7 separate regions of the Homo sapiens genome follow, and regions 1, 2, 3, 4, 5 and 6 are each linked to region 7. The links are contacts of gene promoters, found by promoter capture Hi-C in blood cells and fetal thymus (Javierre and others, 2016). All regions are on one chromosome and are shown on one strand. Each heading gives the region's core, a stretch centred on a gene start or on the middle of the fragment in contact. The rest is flanking DNA. Distances are from core to core; before and after follow the strand shown. Region 1 overlaps ARHGAP24 (Rho GTPase activating protein 24). Region 2 has its middle 130 kb from the start of WDFY3. Region 3 overlaps ARHGAP24 (Rho GTPase activating protein 24). Region 4 overlaps ARHGAP24 (Rho GTPase activating protein 24). Region 5 overlaps ARHGAP24 (Rho GTPase activating protein 24). Region 6 overlaps ARHGAP24 (Rho GTPase activating protein 24). Region 7 holds the start of ARHGAP24 (Rho GTPase activating protein 24).

The links. Contacts are between HindIII fragments. The CHiCAGO score rates a contact against its expected background, and 5 or more counts as called.
Region 1: a fragment that was not itself captured here is called in contact with the fragment with the promoter of ARHGAP24 in region 7 in 2 of 17 cell types (total B cells and naive B cells); the score reaches 13.2 in total B cells.
Region 2: a fragment that was not itself captured here is called in contact with the fragment with the promoter of ARHGAP24 in region 7 in 1 of 17 cell types (naive B cells); the score reaches 6.7 in naive B cells.
Region 3: a fragment that was not itself captured here is called in contact with the fragment with the promoter of ARHGAP24 in region 7 in 2 of 17 cell types (total B cells and naive B cells); the score reaches 10.0 in total B cells.
Region 4: a contact is called between a fragment that was not itself captured here and the fragment with the promoter of ARHGAP24 in region 7, in 1 of 17 cell types (naive B cells). The highest score is 5.1, in naive B cells.
Region 5: a fragment that was not itself captured here is called in contact with the fragment with the promoter of ARHGAP24 in region 7 in 2 of 17 cell types (naive B cells and total B cells); the score reaches 8.0 in naive B cells.
Region 6: a fragment that was not itself captured here is called in contact with the fragment with the promoter of ARHGAP24 in region 7 in 1 of 17 cell types (total B cells); the score reaches 6.8 in total B cells.

What each region holds. Positions count from the first base shown.
Region 1 is chr4:85,836,424-85,839,232 of GRCh38, reverse strand. The region is part of intron 3 of ARHGAP24 (Rho GTPase activating protein 24); the gene reads right to left. Among named protein-coding and RNA genes, the nearest start is that of MIR4451, 120 kb to the right of the region's middle. The HindIII fragment of the contact is 3,324 bases long and covers 1-2,809 here.
Region 2 is chr4:85,092,768-85,095,811 of GRCh38, reverse strand. No RefSeq gene overlaps it. Among named protein-coding and RNA genes, the nearest start is that of WDFY3, 130 kb to the right of the region's middle. The HindIII fragment of the contact is 5,236 bases long and covers 1-3,044 here.
Region 3 is chr4:85,857,729-85,860,428 of GRCh38, reverse strand. All of the region lies in intron 3 of ARHGAP24 (Rho GTPase activating protein 24), which reads right to left. Among named protein-coding and RNA genes, the nearest start is that of MIR4451, 140 kb to the right of the region's middle. The HindIII fragment of the contact is 1,713 bases long and covers 517-2,229 here.
Region 4 is chr4:85,914,897-85,917,752 of GRCh38, reverse strand. The region is part of intron 3 of ARHGAP24 (Rho GTPase activating protein 24); the gene reads right to left. Among named protein-coding and RNA genes, the nearest start is that of MIR4451, 190 kb to the right of the region's middle. The HindIII fragment of the contact is 4,449 bases long and covers 1-2,856 here.
Region 5 is chr4:85,933,922-85,936,920 of GRCh38, reverse strand. All of the region lies in intron 4 of ARHGAP24 (Rho GTPase activating protein 24), which reads right to left. Among named protein-coding and RNA genes, the nearest start is that of MAPK10-AS1, 180 kb to the left of the region's middle. The HindIII fragment of the contact is 1,553 bases long and covers 918-2,470 here.
Region 6 is chr4:85,884,859-85,887,825 of GRCh38, reverse strand. All of the region lies in intron 3 of ARHGAP24 (Rho GTPase activating protein 24), which reads right to left. Among named protein-coding and RNA genes, the nearest start is that of MIR4451, 160 kb to the right of the region's middle. The HindIII fragment of the contact is 4,405 bases long and covers 1-2,967 here.
Region 7 is chr4:85,473,857-85,476,566 of GRCh38, reverse strand. It overlaps ARHGAP24 (Rho GTPase activating protein 24), which reads right to left and starts at 1,417. Exons shown (of 10, transcript NM_001025616.3): 1 at 1,008-1,417. The HindIII fragment of the contact is 5,990 bases long and covers 1-2,127 here.

The sequences.
Region 1 (2,809 bases), core at 230-2,729, 360 kb before region 7:
TTAAGCCGCACATACTTACAAATTACTCTTTTTAATGTTTAAAATAATTTATACAATTATTATTACTGAGTCTTCTCTGTTTTATTATGATTGCTGAAAGTAATGAGAATAGCTACCATTTTTAGTTCATTGTAATTGTTGTGTTTCCCCTTCCCTTTGGAATTAAGCAGGTGCCAAACATTTATTAGATGCCATCTAAGGTAATTAGTTGCTCATGAAAATGCCATGAACAATGCTCAGGTTGTGGCAACTGAGCTACGATTTTTGATAGAACTCAATATTGATCAGCATAATGACAACAAATAAAGGTGAGGGGCTCAGCGCAGCTGGAGGAAGAAATAAAGAGAGGAAGAGCAGAAAATTTCCAAGGTGGGCCCTCCATGCGAATGAAGAACAGAGCAGGTGTTTGGCAAAGTTAGCTTGGGGGAGGGAGGGATGGACTTAGTGGGGGAGGGAAGGTGTGAAAATAATTGTATTTTGTTTATGTCTTAAAGAAAACGTCCCTAAAATGTGTCACTTAAGGAAGGATACAGTTTCAGCAACAGAAGTGGGGGGCATATCTGCCATAATTGGCTATGCAATAAAAGAGATTTTAAAAACACATTTTGCAGTAGTTATTTTGGCCTTTTTCTTTGAGACAGAGTCTCGCTCTGTCGCCCAGGCTGGAGTGCAGTGGCGTGATCTCGGCTCACTGCCAGCTCCGCCTCCTGGGTTCACACCATTCTCCTGCCTCAGCCTCCCAAGTAGCTGGGACTACAGGCGCCCACCACCATGACTGGCTAATTGCTTTTGTATTTTTAGTAGAGATGGGGTTTCACTGTGTTAGCCAGGATGGTTTTGATCCCCTGACCTCGTGATCTGCCCACCTCAGCCTCCCAAAGTGCTGGGATTACAGGCGTGAGCCACCGTGCCCGGCTATTTTGGCCTTTTAAAGATATATTCAGAATGATTACATGTCTCTCTTGAGAGGCAGTATCCACAGTAGTCATGCTCACAGGCTGTGGAATCAGATTTGAATTCTGACCCTGCCACTAGTTGATGTCACGATTTAACCTGTGTCTCAACTTCCTCATCTGCACAATTTCCCATCTGTGGTTTATAGCATTGTTGTGAGAATTAAAAGTGTATAAGTAATGTAGATGCTTAGGAGAGTGGCTGGCACCTAGTAATAACACACGTTCGCTATTTTTTCCAGACATTATTTGAACCCAATAAAGAATGTTAACAGAAAGGACGATCAAGACAGTCAAATGATGCTGGGAGTACATTTTCAAAGTTTGGTTTTGTTTTACTACTTAGCATATAGATAAAGCCAGCAGAGCAGAAATACAATACCGATCGAGGAATCTAAACTATAGGACTCGAGAGAAGATGATAAAAATGTTAAAATTCTCTAATTATCAGTTACAAAGATTGATTCCCACGTAGGGAAATTTCCCTACAACATTGCCCGCAGCATGGCAGTTTTATTGGGATTGGAATACAGTCCATATGGTGTGCTTGCTGACACTGGAGTTTAGGGGAGTGGGCTCCTCCTGAGCATATTTTACTTCTGTGAATAATCACTTGTCATTTCAAGTCCCCACCCCCATGAGAACTGCAACCTCGGAGTCCTCTAGGGAAGCTGCATTTGTTCCCTTGCTATTATAAGCATTTGCCCAAGATGACTCCAGGACAAAGTTTAATTCCGCTGCTTGTTTTTTTTTGTTTTTCTCTTTCGATTTGTCTTCATGTAACATAGACTCCACAACCACAAATTCCAGCTGAATTACATCTTTAGGGACGTGCAAAGACCTTGGGGCAGGAGAGGCAGAAGTCAGTGAAGCAAGAGTTCACGACATTTTCAATCACTTAAAGAATGATGTTAGAAATTCAAGTACCTTTTCCCCATTACTGGGGAAAATGTTTTCCCTTGACAGGCCTTATTTCAGAATTAGATTGTATGACCCAGTTAGCTAGGCTGACTCAAATTATAGAGCAGGTTGGCAGAAAAGAAACAACTTACAGAATCAAAGCAAGTGTAGGAAAAAAGAATTTGAGCTATCTCTGCCTAATGATCTTCTGAGTTCACTCCTAAGGGATGCTCTACAGCAAGGGAATAAATAGTCATCAACACTTAACTCCTAAAACTTTCAGAGATAAATATTACCTTTAGGAATAAATATGTCACAGCTGGGCTAGAATGATGACCCCATACTTGCTATGTGCACATATTTAGGGAGTCCCTGCACATCAGCACAGTCCTTTTTCCCCCTCCTTTTTGGCATTTGAGAATTGGGCTTCTACTCTGTGAGTTGGAACAGCTCTTCTGAAACTTTAATGTACAAACAAAACATCTGGGGATCTAGGTTAAAATGCAGATTCTGATGCAGGAGGTCTAGAAGAGGCTTGAGACTCTGCATTTCTTACCAGCGCTGACAGGATACTGATGCTGCTAGTCACTGACCACACTTCGAATAGCATGGAGGTAATATAATACTGAGGCCAGTCCTGGACTCTGAATTTTCTTGGGTTCTCCCATTACTATTATTTCTTCTGAGCCAATGCTAGGGGTTGAATTATGTTCCTCAGGAAAGATATGTTGAAGTCCTAACCTCCAGTATCTCAGAATGTGGTCATATTTGGAAATAGGGTCTTTACAGGTCAAAGTGGTAGTCCCTAATCCAATATGACTGGTGTCCTCATAAAAAGGGGAAATAGGGACACAGTGATAGATATGCACAGAGGGAAGGTGATGTTGAGAAACATAGGAAGACAGGCATCTACAAGCTAAGAAACTCCTGAGTCTATCAGAAGGTAGGAGAAAGAC
Region 2 (3,044 bases), core at 315-2,814, 380 kb after region 7:
AGTATGGCCAAGGGCCCCACAGTGTGCTGAAGGCCTCACATAGTGTGATACTGCCTTAGAACACCCAAGGGCAATGTTAGTACTTAGTGGTTGTGCCTAATAGGGGACTGTGGATACCAGATGCAACTAGCAAAATGCCTTTGCATAGAGAGTAATAGTTTAAAGGGATATATTTGTGAGATCACAGGAAACATCCTGGAGATGCCAAGAAATGTATAGAAGAGATGTGAGTGGTAATGGAAATCACAAAATAACAGGTAGTAAAAAATCCTGCAGGTGGAAATAAAATAACAAGGAGAAAAATAAACATAATCTACTGTAATTAATGTAAGTACATTTTTGCCTGTAAAAGCTAGTGTAGCTCAGGGAAATACAAGTCTCATGTGCATACAATTTACTTTCACTTAACAAAGAAGGTACTGAATTGGAATAATTGACTATAGTCACTTCCCAGATCTACTTCAGCAAACCCTAGTTATGTCTTTTTATTAATTACATAGTTAGCAAAATATAGTTTTCTCCATTGACAGGTGTCTATGTTGGCCTATAAATGTGCTTGTAAATAAAAACTTCATAACATAATCCTATATATACAATTGATTGACTGTCAGCAATAAATTCAAAGCAGCATATAACATGCCATCAGCTGCCCAGTAGATGTAATCTTTTACCTCTGAGCAAATTATCTGTAAGATATACTTCAAGGTAGAATATAGAAGTTCTTCATTAAAAGTACATTCAGGTCATACTTTCAACACCCACTAATTTGTTCCATAATTTTACCTAAGTATCTCATAAATTCCTTCTTACTAAATGGAAGCATTTATTAATTTCCATGGCTACCTTTGGTCATTATTTTCACACCTGAATTGCACTCTTTTAATAGCATTCTTTTAAACGTCAGTCCTTCCTTTGTTCTATTTCATGCCCTCTTGCTTTTGAACTATTTTATCCTTGAAGAGTTTTCTTTCATATACTTTTTTATACTCCAAACTTTATCTGCCTTAGTCATGTTCACCTTTCATTTCCTCTCAGAATAAGTACTGACCTTATTTTTTTTAGTCTCCAAAAGGAGCTATGACCTAAAGATATTTTATCATCACGGCTGTCTTTATTGATGCTTTGTTACCATTCCTGTCATATAAGGTTCAGGATTACGCGAAGAGTTCCAAGTGGGATGGCTTCCCAGCCCTTTGAAATGCTTTTATAATGATACGTTGCAGAGATCCATTAGCCTTCCTGATTATTAAGATGCTACTGCTTTGTTTCATTTCACCATAAATTTTTGTTGCTAATATTTCCTTACAACTTGTTATTTTCTTACACATTTTTCCAGGCTTTTACCTGATCTGTTTCTTTATTCAAAAAGATTCCACATGGTTTCGAATATGACATATAGCAAATGCAGTGACAAATACACTTTCTTTAGTAAAAAAATTAGTAAAAAAAATGCTCCAAAAGGTTCTGTTTTCTTAATTCAGTCAATTTATATAAATCTTTTTCTCGCCAAAATGCTACTTGGTTGTCCTCTACATGGTATTTTCACAAAGAAAACAAGTTCCAGGTAAAGGTAAAAGGGAATAAATGGAAATAGTATGGAATTATCCCTCCTATTAGAAGAGGAGCCCAGTAAATAATATTACTGATTATCAACTAGTAGAACCAGCTCTATATGAAGAGCATATTGTGTGGACTTTTCTGGAAGCATTTATGTGATTTGAAAGTGTTTACATAGAGTACAAAAAATCTAAAACTTGCAACTAACAAATAGCCTAAAAATTCAGAGAATTTATAGTTGATTATCAACTTTGGGTTTTGACTGGCTTCATGTTGGTTTTTATTTTACAGTTCTAAGAATCAGGTAATGAAACCCTCAGGCACAAATCAAGGTCACAAACAAGTTGGTCACGCAACTGAAATGAAAAGTCACAGCAGCCATGTATGCACAGCAGACAATCCTTTGCCTTATTGTCTTAGAACACTGCCAATTTTGCTTTCTTGTTCACGTTTCAAGAAGAAATGCCAATTAGTGAACTCTGAGGTATGTCATCTTCTTTTTCCTTCCTCACCAATTACCCTGAAACTAACAAGCTCAAAATTATTTATCACACCTACATCTTACCTGCAGTGTCCAAAGCAAAGGAAAAAGATATCTCTGGACACTGTCCTAGAAATATAGCAATAGTCTACTCGCACAGGTAAAACAGGAACAAACCAGCAAAGGGTCAAAGGAAATAACCCATCTCCCTGCTTTCTTTCTTTTATATGGATTTACCTTTTCCTCTTTCTCTTCCCACTGTCAAACATGCTTATCTAAGAAAGTTCCTGCAGAGATATATCTCTTTTTAATGGAAACGCCTTCAGCCATTTTGGTGAACTTTCTTGAGAGTTGGAGGAGGGAGGGCGTGACTTGTTCACATTCATAACCTCAGCATGTAGCACAATATTTGCCATGTAACAGGCACTCAAAAATGTTAAATGAATAAAATATAGTTTGTGCATGCTTGCTATAGTCTGAATGTTCTGTGTCTCCTGAAATTCTTATGTTAAAGTCCTGACCCTCAAGGTGATGTTAGAGGCTCTTTGGGAGGTGATTAGGTCATAAGCCTTCATGAATAGGATTAGTGCCCTTATAAAACAGGAGCTAGTTCCCACGTTTTCACCACATGAGGACACAAAAGGTGCCATCTGTGAACAAGGAAATGGGTCCTCAGACACCAAATCTGTGGCTCTTTGATCTTGGACTTCCCAGACTCCAGAAGTGTGAAAAATAGATTTTTGTTGTTTGCAAGCTGCCCAGTTTATGGCATTTTGTTATAGCTGCCCAAATGAACTAAGACAATACTATAGCCACTTTTAAATTATGCTTACATTTGACATTTGACATCTCACCGGCAAATTATTGTAAATATGCCAAATACAGGTAATGAAATCATATTATATGACTTCTGATTTTTCTCCTCTGGGTTGACTATCATGTTTCACTCATTAAGACTTCTCTCACCTGTGCAAACTCCACAGAAACATGAGCTGAAATCACTACG
Region 3 (2,700 bases), core at 124-2,623, 380 kb before region 7:
AACCGTAATGAAGAGATGTCACAAAAATATGATGTGTATTTAGCATTTGGTCTTTGGAGAGACCATCTCTGTAAATTGCAGTTCCTTCTTGGCATCTTCATTGTATTCTCTGACTCATATATGAGTGAGCCCTCGTGGGGCACCATATTTCAACAAGTCACCCTGACTCCCCCATCTCTCTACACATTTGCTTTTTATATTCTCCATAAATAGTACCTTACCCTGTAATTCATCTTCCATGCCTAATTCATTCTAAATATAAGCTTCCTGGCCCTGTTTCTGCCATATTAATACACTTCCCGTGGCAAGCACATGTTTAAAAAGAAAATCAATTGTTCTGATTCACTGGACGTGAGCATCTGCATGTTTTTATAATTTATTGTTCATCCTCAGGTCAGTATGATACCAGCATTAAATATTAAGGCTGCTTAGGGCACAATCCTTATCAGAAAGCTTTGCCCTGTTAATATCAGGAAAAATGCTTGAATTTTTTTTTTAATTGTAAGCTCTAAAGCTTGGGTTAGCCATTGTGAGACAGTGGTAAAGAACAAGCACTACCCTGGAGACTGAAACATAACTAGGGGTGCTCAAAAGGAAAGGCTGTCATTTGTTTCTGTTTCTTCCCACCTGCTGCAAAGGCTGTCTCATTAGTAGGCTTAGGCTCTTAAATGAAACTGGAAGTTAAAATTCCAGACTACAGCCAGATGGAAGAATAAATTAGTAAAAATAGTCCATGTACCTAAATATCTGATAGCGGTGAGGACCCTAAAACTTCACTTGTCACTAAAACAGTAGCTATTAGCATGGGCTTATAGAGATACTCAGACCTAAATATCACATTAAAATCATGAGGAGAAGAAATATGTGGCTTATTTATAGAGAATATTTCAACAGTTGTCTGCAAAGTTCATTGTGTATTTAAACGTTTGATGACTATTACTAAAATATGTTGATACTCATTTGGGACTTTATTTTTATCTGCCGAGATTACTCTGTTACCATTTTCTATCTTTGCTCCATAAGTGAACATTATTTAAGTAAATTTATTTAAGGTTCTGATATCAAGAGTTTATGAAATAACTCCTAAAGGACATCTAAGTCTTGGTAGCTTATGACTGAGAAACTGATTCTGTAGCGAATGAAACCAAGCTGTTCTCAAGGAAGGCATACAGCCCAAGCACATCTTGTGTGTGTGTGTGTGTGTGTGTGTGTGTGTATGCATGTGGCTATGTATGTGTGTATGTGTGTATATGTGTGTGTGTGCACAGAAGTGGGTGTCAAACCTCCATCCTTCACATTTTTTCCCTAATGGCCTTTTCCCAGGTCAAACCATGTTTTAATACTATCAACAACCTGCAGCAATGTGTGAAAGTGAGAAAGGCCTTTGCCTAAGACCCAAAAGCAGATAATGGCAGGAGGATGTGCATTATACAGATTATACAGATTGCTTTATATGTACCTGAGGTTCAGGCATTTTTTTTTTCTGAGTACCATACTACTGAAGTTGATATGAAAGGTGCTTCAATCACTGGCATCTGTGCACCTCTCAAGATTCATTTATTTTTATTTTTATTACTACCAGATATACCTTTTCAATCTCTCCAGGTAAAATAAAATCTTTCAGAAACTCCTAGATCCTCCAGACACATTATCACTACCGTTTGTACAGATCACCTTCCTCTGCCTGGAATGCATCCACTCCTTTTCCTTTCCCTCTCAGCTTGGTTAATTTCATATCTTACAAGACATTGCTTCTTAGAATCATCTTGTCTACAGAGGCAAAGCCAACTTGCCAGCATTAAATGCTTTATTTAATGCCATAACATACCAGATAATGTTTTCTTTAACATTTGCATAGAGCATTATGTTTTAATTTATTGAATACCATTGGCAGGATGCAGCTTAGTTGCACAAAGCATTTACTCATTTTCAGGCAAATGCTATTGCTGTGAATGGGGGAAGGAGCAAATACATCACGTTACCTATGGGCACCATTTACTAGTATCCCATTATTGAAAAAGTGAGAAATTCCAAAAATGAAATGATGGAAAACACTACTATGTACAACAAAATTGTTTAAACAAATAGCAACAGAATGTCAACCAAATAAAACACTGCATCTTCATTAGCATCTACCATGTGGTCAGGGGCTCTGAGCATCAGCTTATGTTCCCTGTTGCTTTGTTTGTTTCACAAATGTTAGAGTTGTTTCTCTCACACCTCTAAGCTTAGTGGAGTGCTTCAAATGCAACTGGTATTAAATAAACATTTATTGAATGTTACATGAATGAACAACTAATTGAAAGAAGGCCTATGTCCATTGTATTTATTCTACATTTTTTTCTCACAAGTCTTATGGTGACGAAGAACTTATTTTGTGGTAGGTATTAAAGAAAAGTTTAAAAGAAATATTTGTTCCACTTAAAGTTCTTAATTACAAGCAAAAGAGGTTAAAAATGACAAACTTAAGTAAAAGAAGAATTATTAGAATACATCATGGACTCAGAATTAATAGAAACCTTCAGAGCTTCAGAGGGCCAGAAAAAATATTAGATAAACATAAAAAGCAGGAACCCAGAGGCATGGTAAGCAGTCTACCATGCTCACTAACCTGCATCTATTGCCCCCTCTGCAACCAGTTGAGTTGTGTAGCTTCCAACTATTTCTCTTAATATTGTATATCTTACAATTGAAGAGAGC
Region 4 (2,856 bases), core at 103-2,602, 440 kb before region 7:
AAACAGTTTCTTAGAAGTGATGTCTTTCTTCACTTCTCAAAAGAAGACATTTATGCAGCCAAAAAACACATGAAAAAATGCCAACATCACTGGCCATCAGAGAAATGCAAATCAAAACCACAGTGAGATACCATCTCACACCAGTTAGAATGGCAATCATTAAAAAGTCAGGAAACAACAGATGTTGGAGAGGATGTGGAGAAATAGGAACACTTTTACACTGTTGGTGGGACTGTAAACTAGTTCAACCATTGTGGAAGTCAGTGTGGCGATTCCTCAGGGATCTAGAACTAGAAATACCATTTGACCCAGCCATCCCATTACTGGGTATATACCCAAAGGACTATAAATCATGCTGCTATAAAGACACATGCACACGTATGTTTATTGCGGCACTATTCACAATAGCAAAGACTTGGAACCAACCCAGATGTTCAACAATGATAGACTGGATTAAGAAAATGTGGCACATATACACCATGGAATACTATGCAGCCATAAAAAATGATGAGTTCATGTCCTTTGTAGGGACATGGATGAAATTGGAAATCATCATTCTCAGTAATCTATTGCAAGGACAAAAAACCAAACACTGCATGTTCTCACTCATAGGTGGGAATTGAACAATGAGAACACATGGACACAGGAAGGGGAACATCACACTTTGGGGACTGTTGTGGGGTGGAGGGAGGGGGGAAGGATAGCATTAGGAGGTATACCTACTGCTAAATGACGAGTTAATGGGTGCAGCACACCAATATGGCACATGTATACATATGTAACTAACCTGCACATCGTGCACATGTACCCTAAAACTTAAAGTATAATAATAATAAAATAAAAAAAAGAAGTGATGTCTTTCTTAGAAGATATGTGCATCATCTCCAATAAATAATTATTTAAATATTGCAGTGAATTATTTGTTTGCATTTAAATTTTTAAACAAGTTGCAGTTGCACAAAGGAAACTGCTGTCACAGACATTTGAGTTAGTTTCCAAGACAAGTTCACAGTAGAGAACTGAGGACATTTCAGTGAATACTCAGATGCTGTTAATAACTTCCAGGGTGAATTGTTTCCTCATTCCCAACTGCAAATCAGTTGAAAACTAGACTGTTCTACTATCCATTTTATTACAGACTACAGAAAAATACTGGAAATTTATGTCATTTAATTGTCATTTAGAATACAGAGTTAATAATTTTCACTCATACAACTATAAGCTCTTATTTATTTATTTATTTTTTTAAGTATTACTTTCCCCAACTTTAGTGGGATGGAGAGTTCTGTAGATGTGTATTAAGTTCACCTGGTCGAAAATTAACAAGGATATTCAGAACTTGAACTCAGCTCTGGACCAGGTGAAGAAGCTATCATCAGAGTGAACATGCAACCTACAGAATGGGAGAAAATTTTTGCAATCTATCCATCTGATGAAGGGCTAATATCCAGAAGCTACAAGGAACTTAAATAAACTACAAGAGAAAAAACAACCCCACCAAAAAGTGGTGAAGGACACGAACAGACACTTCTCAAAAGAAGACATTTATGCGGCCAACAAACATGAAAAAAAGCTCATCATCACTGGTCATTAGAGAAATGCAAATCAAAACCACAATAGATACCATCTCACACCAGTTAGAATGGCGATCATTAAAAGTCAGGAAACAACAGATGCTAGAGAGGATGTAGAGAAATAGGAACAATTTTACACTGTTGGTGGGAGTGTAAATTAGTTCAACTGTTGTGGAAGACAGTGTGTTGATTCCTCCAGGATCTAGAACCAGAAATGCCGTTTGACCCAGCAACCCCATTACTGGGTATATACCCAAAGGATTATAAATCATTCTGCTATAAAGACACATGCACACGTATGTTTACTGCAGCACTATTCACAATAGGAAAGACTTGGAACCAACCCAAATGCCCATCAATGATAGACTGGATAAAGAAAATGTGGCACATATACAGCATGGAATACTATGCAGCCATAAAAAAGGATGAGTTCATTTCCTTTGCAGGGACCTAGATGAAGCTGGAAACCATCATTCTCAGCAGACTAACACAGGAACAGAAAATCAAACACCACGTGTTCTCACTCATAAGTGGGAGTTGAACGACGAGAACACATGAATACAGGGAGGGGAATATCACACACTGGGGCTTATTGGGGCGTGGGGGGCTAGGGGAGGGATAGCATTAAGAGCAATACCTAATGCAGATGACAGGTTGATGGGTGCGGCAAACCACCATGGCACGTGTATACCTATGTAACAAACCTGCACATTCCGCACATGTATCCCATAACTTAAAGTATAAATAAATAAATAAGAAAGTGATGACTGATTTATCTTTCAAGTAAATATTGACTTTTATTTTGGTCATGTTTTTAAAAAAGTATAATTGTGATACATTTACTTTTCAGTGATTTATGAAACTTTTAAAATCTCAAATAGGCTAAGTTTATATTTCACTATTTTTCGCATTTCTTGGACTTATTCCTTCAAAAGTGTGCTATTTGTGCTGAGCATGTCAAAGATAAGAATGATATAATGTATTATGTTTTGAATACTTGTTTCCCAGATTACACTGGGAAGTTAACAATTTAAGTCCAACAGTATATTCTGACTTCCACTTTTGTCAGAGATTCAGAATCTAGTTACTTCCTTCACAGTATGTAATTACATTCTTCTGATAGAATCTTCCAAGAAATAAAGGTAGAACATTTTCTTGGCAGAGCTAAAGTATCTAGAATTTATATCCTCTTCTAATTTAGTTTGGTTTAGGTTGGGAGATTCATGTCAAAATATCTGATTGACATAGGAGGAAGGCTGCTATGAGAGATGGTATTTATGTT
Region 5 (2,999 bases), core at 445-2,944, 460 kb before region 7:
TCCACTCTCATTTCTTCTGCTTCCTCACAAACAATATGCTCTCAAACTATGCTGAACTATGTATTGCTTGTCATGTCTTCATGCCTCCTTCTAGAAGGTAGGTCCTGCCTTTGTAAGTCAGTGTAGGAAACCTTATCCTGTAAGAGTCAACTCATACATCTTCTGTGAAGTCTTTACTGACATTCCATTGCCTCATCCCCTACTCTAGACCCAAAGCTTGATATGTTTCTTTATTCCTTAACATTTTGCATGGAAATTATTTATTTAGATGCCTAACCTGTGCTGGACTAGTCAAAAGAGGATTTTATTTTTACATTTATTATAATGAAATAATTGTTTTACATTTATTATTATTATAATAAATATTAGAAAGCAGCTACATACTATATATCTATCCTATGAGCTTCGGAGAGGTTTAGGCAAGGTGCCACAGACACAAGGACCACACTGGGATGGGTCCCAGGTATAAAGGACTCCAAAGCTTTAATTCTATTTTACCACAGTCAAGGCCTTTTGTTTATGTCCCTGGAACTTATCAAGATGGGTGACGCACAGATGCTCCATAAACATTTATGGAATAAATGCATGCATGGAAATAAAACACTTTACCTCCCCAATTATAGAAAATAAATGAATAATTCCAATGTCAAATGAAACTCATTGATAGTTCGTGGGTCGTGCCATTAATTTTGAGTTCCTTATCCCTTCTTGTCTGCAGATCACATACTCAGCCATAGTGGGAATTTGCCTTGACTTATCCTCTGCTTACTGCAACTCTGCTAGCAGGATAAATCCTGGTATCACCAGGATGGTAAGAATTTTCCATTAAAATGAACATTCACCCATAGCAAATGGGCAAATCAAAGTAAAATACATCCATTTTAGTACAGAACTAAGAAACAAAGCAAGGCAAAGCTTATTTCACTCTATCACAAACTTTTTAAGTAGCCACAAAATATTATATAGATAGAAATCCTTTACTCCAAGGAGCTCAGGGTCTATCGTAACCAGTGAATGTTGATAGAATCTTTACTCTTTTCAAAGTCAGAGGGGGGAAGGAAGGAGAATAATAAATGCTAGGAAGGATTAAGAAAGTGTTACAAGGTGTACATAGCGACCCAGTGGACTAGGTCTTTGACCATTGGAGCAATTATACACACTAGGTTCCAAGTCAGGCAAGTTGCATGTATTTCTTTATTTGGCATTCACAGACATCCTACAAGGGGGTCCCTTTTCTACAAACAGGGAAACAGATTTGAAGATGGCAGGTGACCTGTCTGAGGTCACACATCTAGAAAGTGGCAGATTTGGGATACAAACACAGCTCCATATGATTCTAAAAGTCTTTCATTTTTCACTATGTTATGTTAATTGAATTCAAACATAATTTTTTCCAAGGCATTCTCACTATTGTCTTAGTATCACATGGGAGAAAATGTCTTTTTGTAACTTTCAAAGACCAAACCCGATTTCCTTTAGTTTATGTGAATCACTGGGTTTCCACAGGAGCCTGTGGTCAGCCTTTTGTTCAGGGGCACCTACAACTTAATAGATAATTTGGTGTGGTGCTTATCACAAAGTACTTATTTATGTTTCGTTATTCCAAGGAGTCTGTGAATTCATAGATTTGAGACAACCTGTTTGTTTACCTTCTCATTCCCAGCACCACTTGGTAGAGGCTCCATAAAACATTGATATATGAATTAATGAGCTAGTCACTTATACGCAGTTTAAAATTATATAGATTTGGATAGTGGTGTTTTGTTGGGCAAATCCATTTTCATAAATGTGATTACAACATATATAACATACAACAAATTTTAAAGAGGATGTTGGTCTTGTCCACCACCACTGTAAAGACATTCTATTGCCTATGGATTCTGGGAATAGATAGTAACACTGTACCTCACCAGTTTGTAATCGATCTTGAATCCCTGATTGAATAGACCTATTGCCATTCTCCACTTTGGGAATGAATATGTGTGTGTGTGTGTATGTGCACGCATATGTGCATGTGTGTATACTACAAACGCGTATAAAGCACCTCAAGGTGGCTATTAGGATACAGTGGCCAAGAATCAGCATATGTAAAATGTAAGAGCTGTCGGCTGGGCGAGGTGGCTTGCGCCTATAATCCCAGCACTTTGGGAGGCCGAGGTGGGAGGATTACTTGAGGTCAGGAGTTTGAGACGAGCCTGGCCAACGTGATGAAACCCCATCTCTACTAAAAATACAAAAATTAGCTGGGTGTGGTGGCGGGCACCTGTAATCCCAGCTACTCAGGAGGCTGAGCTAGGAGAATCACTTGAACCCGGGAGGCGGAGGTTGCAGTGAACCAAGATTTCACCACCGCACTCCAGCCTCGATGACAGAATGAGATCATTTCAAAACAAACAAACAAATAAATAAATAAAAATAAAACATAAGAGCTATAGAGTTAGGAGCATATAATTGGTAAACAGAGAAAGCTTGCTGAAGAAATTAGAGTCAGTGATGCCTTGAAGAGAGCATAAAGTTGAGATAGACAATGGAGAAGAAAGCATCATAGCAGAGGAAACAAAGTGAAGAGACATGAAGAAGTGGTGTAGGACATGTGTTTAGGAGAAAGGATGAAATAGTCTGGGGAATTAGGGGGCTTATACTCCAGGGAATTGTTAGAATTTGTTAGAGGGCCTTTATAGTTACTTGAAATAGGACTTCCTCCTGTGAGCAATAGGGGATCATAAAAATCTTTGAGCTGTGGAAAGTTGCTTGACAGCACTGTTTTAGAAATACAGATAGGGAAATGCTTCACAAGATGGCTTGTGTGTTGTAGGAATTTGTGAAGAGTGCTGGGGGTGCACAGAGGTGAGGATGAATGCTGTCTTGAAAAGCCACTACTTAGGTTAAAGTAAGTTGCATACATGGAGCAATAAAGGCACAAAGAGCTAAGGTGATGGAAATGGAAATGGAGCTGGAAAGACATAAAGAAGAAGCAATGGTGAATGATCACTAAGTGG
Region 6 (2,967 bases), core at 320-2,819, 410 kb before region 7:
GTATCTTACCTATGACCTCACTTGTCATAGGTACATGACATAAGTACATAAGAACAGAGCATCTTTAGATTCTTTAGTATTTCAGATCAAAATTCACCTAAGCATCAGCTTTGGGAACTTGAAATAACAGAGGTAATGACAGAGGTAAAAGGAGAAACTTCCATGGAGAAACGTTTTTATGTTACAGTAATTTAGCGTCTTTTTCTAAAAGGTTCTTAATGTTTTACATGTTTTAGTGTTGTAAAATATTTACAACTGTAAGCATATAGGCATAGGCTATATTGTTATGTCCTGGTGTTTCTGGAGACAGTCTCCCAATCCATAGAGCAGGAAGATATTTGTTCCATCTCTTTCTCAGTCTCTTACTCTTTTACCCACTATTTTAAGGATAGATTTTCATTTGATGTCATTAAACTTTATCAAAATTTGGTATACCTCTCCTTTGATTAATAATTCTTAATAGACATATTTTAAATATAATTAATTAACCTTGGATGAGAAGAAACTTTTGAGGGCTTTGGATTATATATTTTAATACTCTAATCAGCAAAGAATCTTTTAATTAAATGTTAGAGGATTCCTTTTAAAATTATGATGTCTTACATAAACCTTTGGCAATATTAATGAAAAACAATTATTAAATAATCATCATGACAGTAAATACACCAGTTTTTACTCTTTTGTCTTCTTCTAGTCCTTTTCATACATATAGATGATACAAATATTTCTTGAATATTGGTACCAGAGTATGCTCTTGTTACTTCAAAAATTACATTTGCCATATCGTAACTATTTAGGTAAATCTCTTAAAAATGGTACCAAAGCTAGTCAATGCAATCATTATCTGATTGATAATGAGATCAAGGCAAGAGAAAAGCTGAACAGCTTATATATAATAAAATCTCTTATTGTCTCTGTAATGACCAACAAGAAATTCTATGCATAGAACAAATACATTGCCCATGTGAGTCATCCTTGTTTAAACATTCTCTTGTATCAAAACATAAATGAGCTATTATTTTCATATCAGTGTGGAGTATAGGGGTTAATTTAAACTATTTTATTTGAAAATCTTAGGGGGAAATGGATATGATCTAGCATCATTATTTTAGATGCTTTATGACATCATTTCATTGTTTAATGTATTCACTTATTTGAAAGCAAAAAAGCTATTCAGTTAATACTTTCAAAGCTCTAGGGATATGTATCGGTTTTAAAGTGCCATTTAGAAAATAAACACTAAATGACTATCATTCCCTTTCTCTCCGTAAGTTTGGGTGGCCTCAACTCAAGTGTTTATTTTAGTGGTGATTCCATAAGCAACACACAAGCCTGGTCTATGATGATAAGGCTTAGTACTTTCAGGACCACCTTCTGGTGCACTAATTCTTCATCTATTAAGTGCTCACCTTTACATGACATGAGAATGTTAATCTGGAGGCAGGGTGATAACTGAAAATGAAAAGTATACTCTACCCATGGGGCAGCTTACTGTTGCACTTAAATCAGGTAAGTAACCCAACTCACATTTTGTATTTCACATGGTAACGTTGTTGTATGATTATATAATTGTCCTGCGAAGTTTATCATATTACAGTAAATAAATTATGTTGTCAGATAATGGTCATTGACAATCATTAAACTTTTGCTAAACACATGGTTTGTTAAAGATTATCTTGGGCCCTCAGATAATGAATTACTTTTGAGTTCAGTCATTTCCAAATTAAAGATAAATCTGGATACAATCTCTTCAAGGTATTTTGAAATTTCATGAGATGTTTCAAAATTCTTTATGGCATTAGAATAGCAATGTTGTGACTTTAATTAATAGTTATCTTCATTGGACAGGTGCAACAAGGAAATTGATGATGACACTGCATTTCAAATTTCTCTGTGCGGGATTCCTATTCTAGGAAGTGCATAACTAATCCAAAATTTTGCTCTCATAGTTATAAAAGATAATAAATAAAGTATCAACCAACATAATCTACCACATCTAACTCTAGCTTTAAACAATTAAATTAAAAAGCTCAGATGTTAAATGACCATTCTACTAGCCATAACAACATACCATTTTAGTTTGCCATGTCATTTAACACATGAGCCATTATCAAATATTTGGAAATAGATGGGACTCCAAGAACTACTATTTTCCCAATTTACTAGGAATAATTTTAAAAGATATAAATAAGTATTAAAAGTTCATGGTATTATTATTTTAAGTCTAAGACATATAGTCTATGATCCAAGAATGGTTTTGTTATACTTCAAATTTTTAACTTTCAGAGACACTTAATAACCTTTCAAAAAGACGACCTTGAAGATTCTAAAAATACCTAATTTTATTATCTGAGATAATTAATAAAACCCCCAAACTGGGTAACAGCTAATAGGTATTCGTGAGTTTCTATAGATAATGTACTATGAATTAGAATTTGTAAAACTGGCCCTTAGTTGAAAAGCACAATTAAAAAACATATATTTTAAAACCTATAATAGACACCAAGTTTCCAGAAGCAAATATAAGCCTAAATTAGGCTGTCTATGTGGATTACAAAACTAAAAGGCTAGGGGAGTTATATAGCACTCAAAATACTATAATCAAGACCACATATGTAAATATTAAACTTTACATAAAGGAAGCGTAATGAATCTAATATGTACCAAAAAGAAACTAAATCCTAAAATGCCCTCCTAAAATACGTTGGCTAATAATGAATAAATCTAAACACTGAAGAAAGGATGTATGCCTTCAATAAGAAAACTTTTTTCCATATTTCCTTCTACGTGGTAACTTCAGACCACTCTTGCAGTTTCTTTGTATTTCTTGACAGACATAAAAGACCTACATCATTAAAAATTTTCCAAACCCATTTTTACCATATATAACTGTGTAAAAGGTGGCACATTTTAGAGATTATGTTTATACCTATAATTTGTAGATGAAGCAGATCAGACAGTAAATTG
Region 7 (2,710 bases), core at 168-2,667:
AGCAACACATATTGTTTTATTTATGTATTTATGTATAAGCAAAGCCTTAACAACTTTTATATTCCAAATACTCAGCACGATTTATTTATTTCCTTTTTAGAAAGAGATGAAACAATGATGCCGTGGAAGGTTAAAAAAAGAGTAACATAAAATGTGCTGGAAACAGAAATTACTTGGAGAAATTACTTGTTTAATTCAAATGAATTAAACGAGATATAGTCTACAAAGAAGTCTGGGCTCCCTATTACTGGTTGATGCTGAAAATCTATCTAAGGAATTCAGAGTAACATTGTCTCCCTTCTATTTGGGTACGTATAAAATAAATGTAGTCTTAAGTATTTTCTAAAAACGAGACCATATTACATGTTTATCATTAAATGTTATTTTTAAAAACATTTGGACAAAATCTTTTGAGTGGCTTCAAATTCACCAAAGATTCCCTAACGTTTTGTGTTTACAAATATATGTATATATTTTATAATATATATTTCTAATATGTAATATATTTATAAATATTTTAAAACATATTTTATACATATAAAATATATATTTTTGCAAATATATATGCTTATTATTAAAACCTATCTTTGTGCGCCTGTTACATAGGGAACTCCTATAAGATACTAGAGGAAACAAACAAGGGGAAGGGGAGGATGGATACCAAGAGAGGAAATTGAATTGTACAAAGGGTTTTTATTAATTCCATCTATTTTTAAAGCCAGAAAGACATACTACCAGCTTGCTGTCTCCCGGCACAAACATGCGCGCGCGCGCACACACACACACAAACACAGACAGGCTACATCAGCACGGGATTCCTGCGATCCCTCCCCGCCCCCCGCAGCCCCCTCCCCGCCCCCCGCAGCCCCCTCCCCGCCCCCCGCAGCCCCCTCCCCGCCCCCCGCAGCCCCCTCCCCGCCCCCCGCAGCCCCCTCCCCTGGCGCAGGCAGCCGCGTCCGTCCTTCCCGCGGTAGCTCCGCGCACTTCCTCGCGACCGCATCACCTACCTTGCTGGGAGCTCAAGACAGATGCCGGACAGGGCTGCTGCTCCGAAGGAAAAGGCTCCCAGGACCAGCAGTAAGAAAACGCAAAGAAAAAAAGGTGGTAGTGAGGCTCCTTTACTTTCCACAACAAGGGGAAGTGTTGAACTCTATGCACTGGGCTGCTCCGCAGCGCGGGTTTCGGAGGAAATAGGCGGCCGAGAGAGCTGCGCCTGCGATGGGAAGTTGGGGGGATTCCCCCAGCCACCCAGCCACCCCCGCCAGGCTCCTCTCTGGTCCCCGCCGCAGCCTTGACAGCTCCCCTGGTCTCCGAGCCCCTCCAGAGCCCTGCTGGTTTCCACCCGGAGCTGGGCTGTGTTGCCACATGCACTTGAGAAATCCTAGCAGTTGCGCAAAGAGTCCCAGAAGTTAGAAAGGGTGATTGTGTGTGAATGTGTAAATATACAGTACAAGAGGCTGGAACAACTGAGTGGGGCCAACCCTCAGACACAGCTCGAGGTTTCAGATTTCATTTGGCAACTGGTAGCTTCACAGGACTCGAGCCGCACTACAGGGGAGGCCGGCAGGAGCCCCGCCCTCCCAAAGCCTGGGTTATCTGAGAGCTGGAGCTACACCGCCTGGCGCCACTGACAGAATGCGCCCTGCCTGGTTCCTCCGCATCTGGCATCGCTCGTTCCTTTCAAGTGCATCATAGATACTTGTTGGCCACAGATCTGGGGCTGTGGGCGCGAGAAGGTTGGTGAATACATGTCTCCTGCCCTCAAGGAGCTCTGCATTTCATTGGCCAAACCCCATACACCGGTTTTACTTGCTTCTACCAACTCTGTCTCGCTAACATTTTATTTCTCCAATTAGAATTACCTGGGCCATTAAAGCAATATTCCTGGAAATGCACATTTAGATGGATGCTCTCTAACTAGAGCCTTAGAGAAATTCAAAGTATAATTACTTTCTTACGGTGGTGTAAGAACTCTCGGAGTTACACAATATGGGACAAAAGGACAAACTAGTAAACATTGTTTTGATGCAGGCCGTCTCTTCCCACCATCACCACAATGTCTGTTTCAAATTGTGATCTTACAGTTCTGGTTACCTGGCATGCTGAGTCAAATTATTTCAAAAAGCTTTGTAAAGATCTCTGTTTTAGAAACCCACTTACAGTGGATCAGTCATGCAATCCTAGCACTTTGGAAGGCTGAGGCAGGAGGATCGCTTGAGCCCAGGGGTTTCAGACCAAAATTGGCAACATAATGAGACTCCTGTCTCTATAAAAAAAAAATTAAAAAAATAAAAAAAAAGTTGGGCGTGGCGGCGTATGTCTGTAGTCCCAGCTACTCAGGAGGCTGAAGCGGGAAAATCCCTTGAGCCCAGGAGGTCAAGGCTGCAGTGAGCTATAATTGTGCCAGCGCACTCCAGCCTAGGTGACGGAGTGACACCCCCGTCTCGAACAATTACTACTGCTACTACTAATAAAAGAAACTCTCTTTTAGAAATCATCACCAGATATCCTTAAGACACAGAATGGGGGTGTCCTCACTAGGGATCTCCAGTGAGAGAGGGATATGGAAGAAGAGCAAATGTTTAGTTTTAGAAACACCAAAAATAAAAGGCTGAGTGGACACTGATATGTTTTTCCTTTTTGTCCTCTTTCTCCAAGTTCTTGGAGAAACGAATCTACCCCATCCCATGCTGAGGTCCTACTATAAACT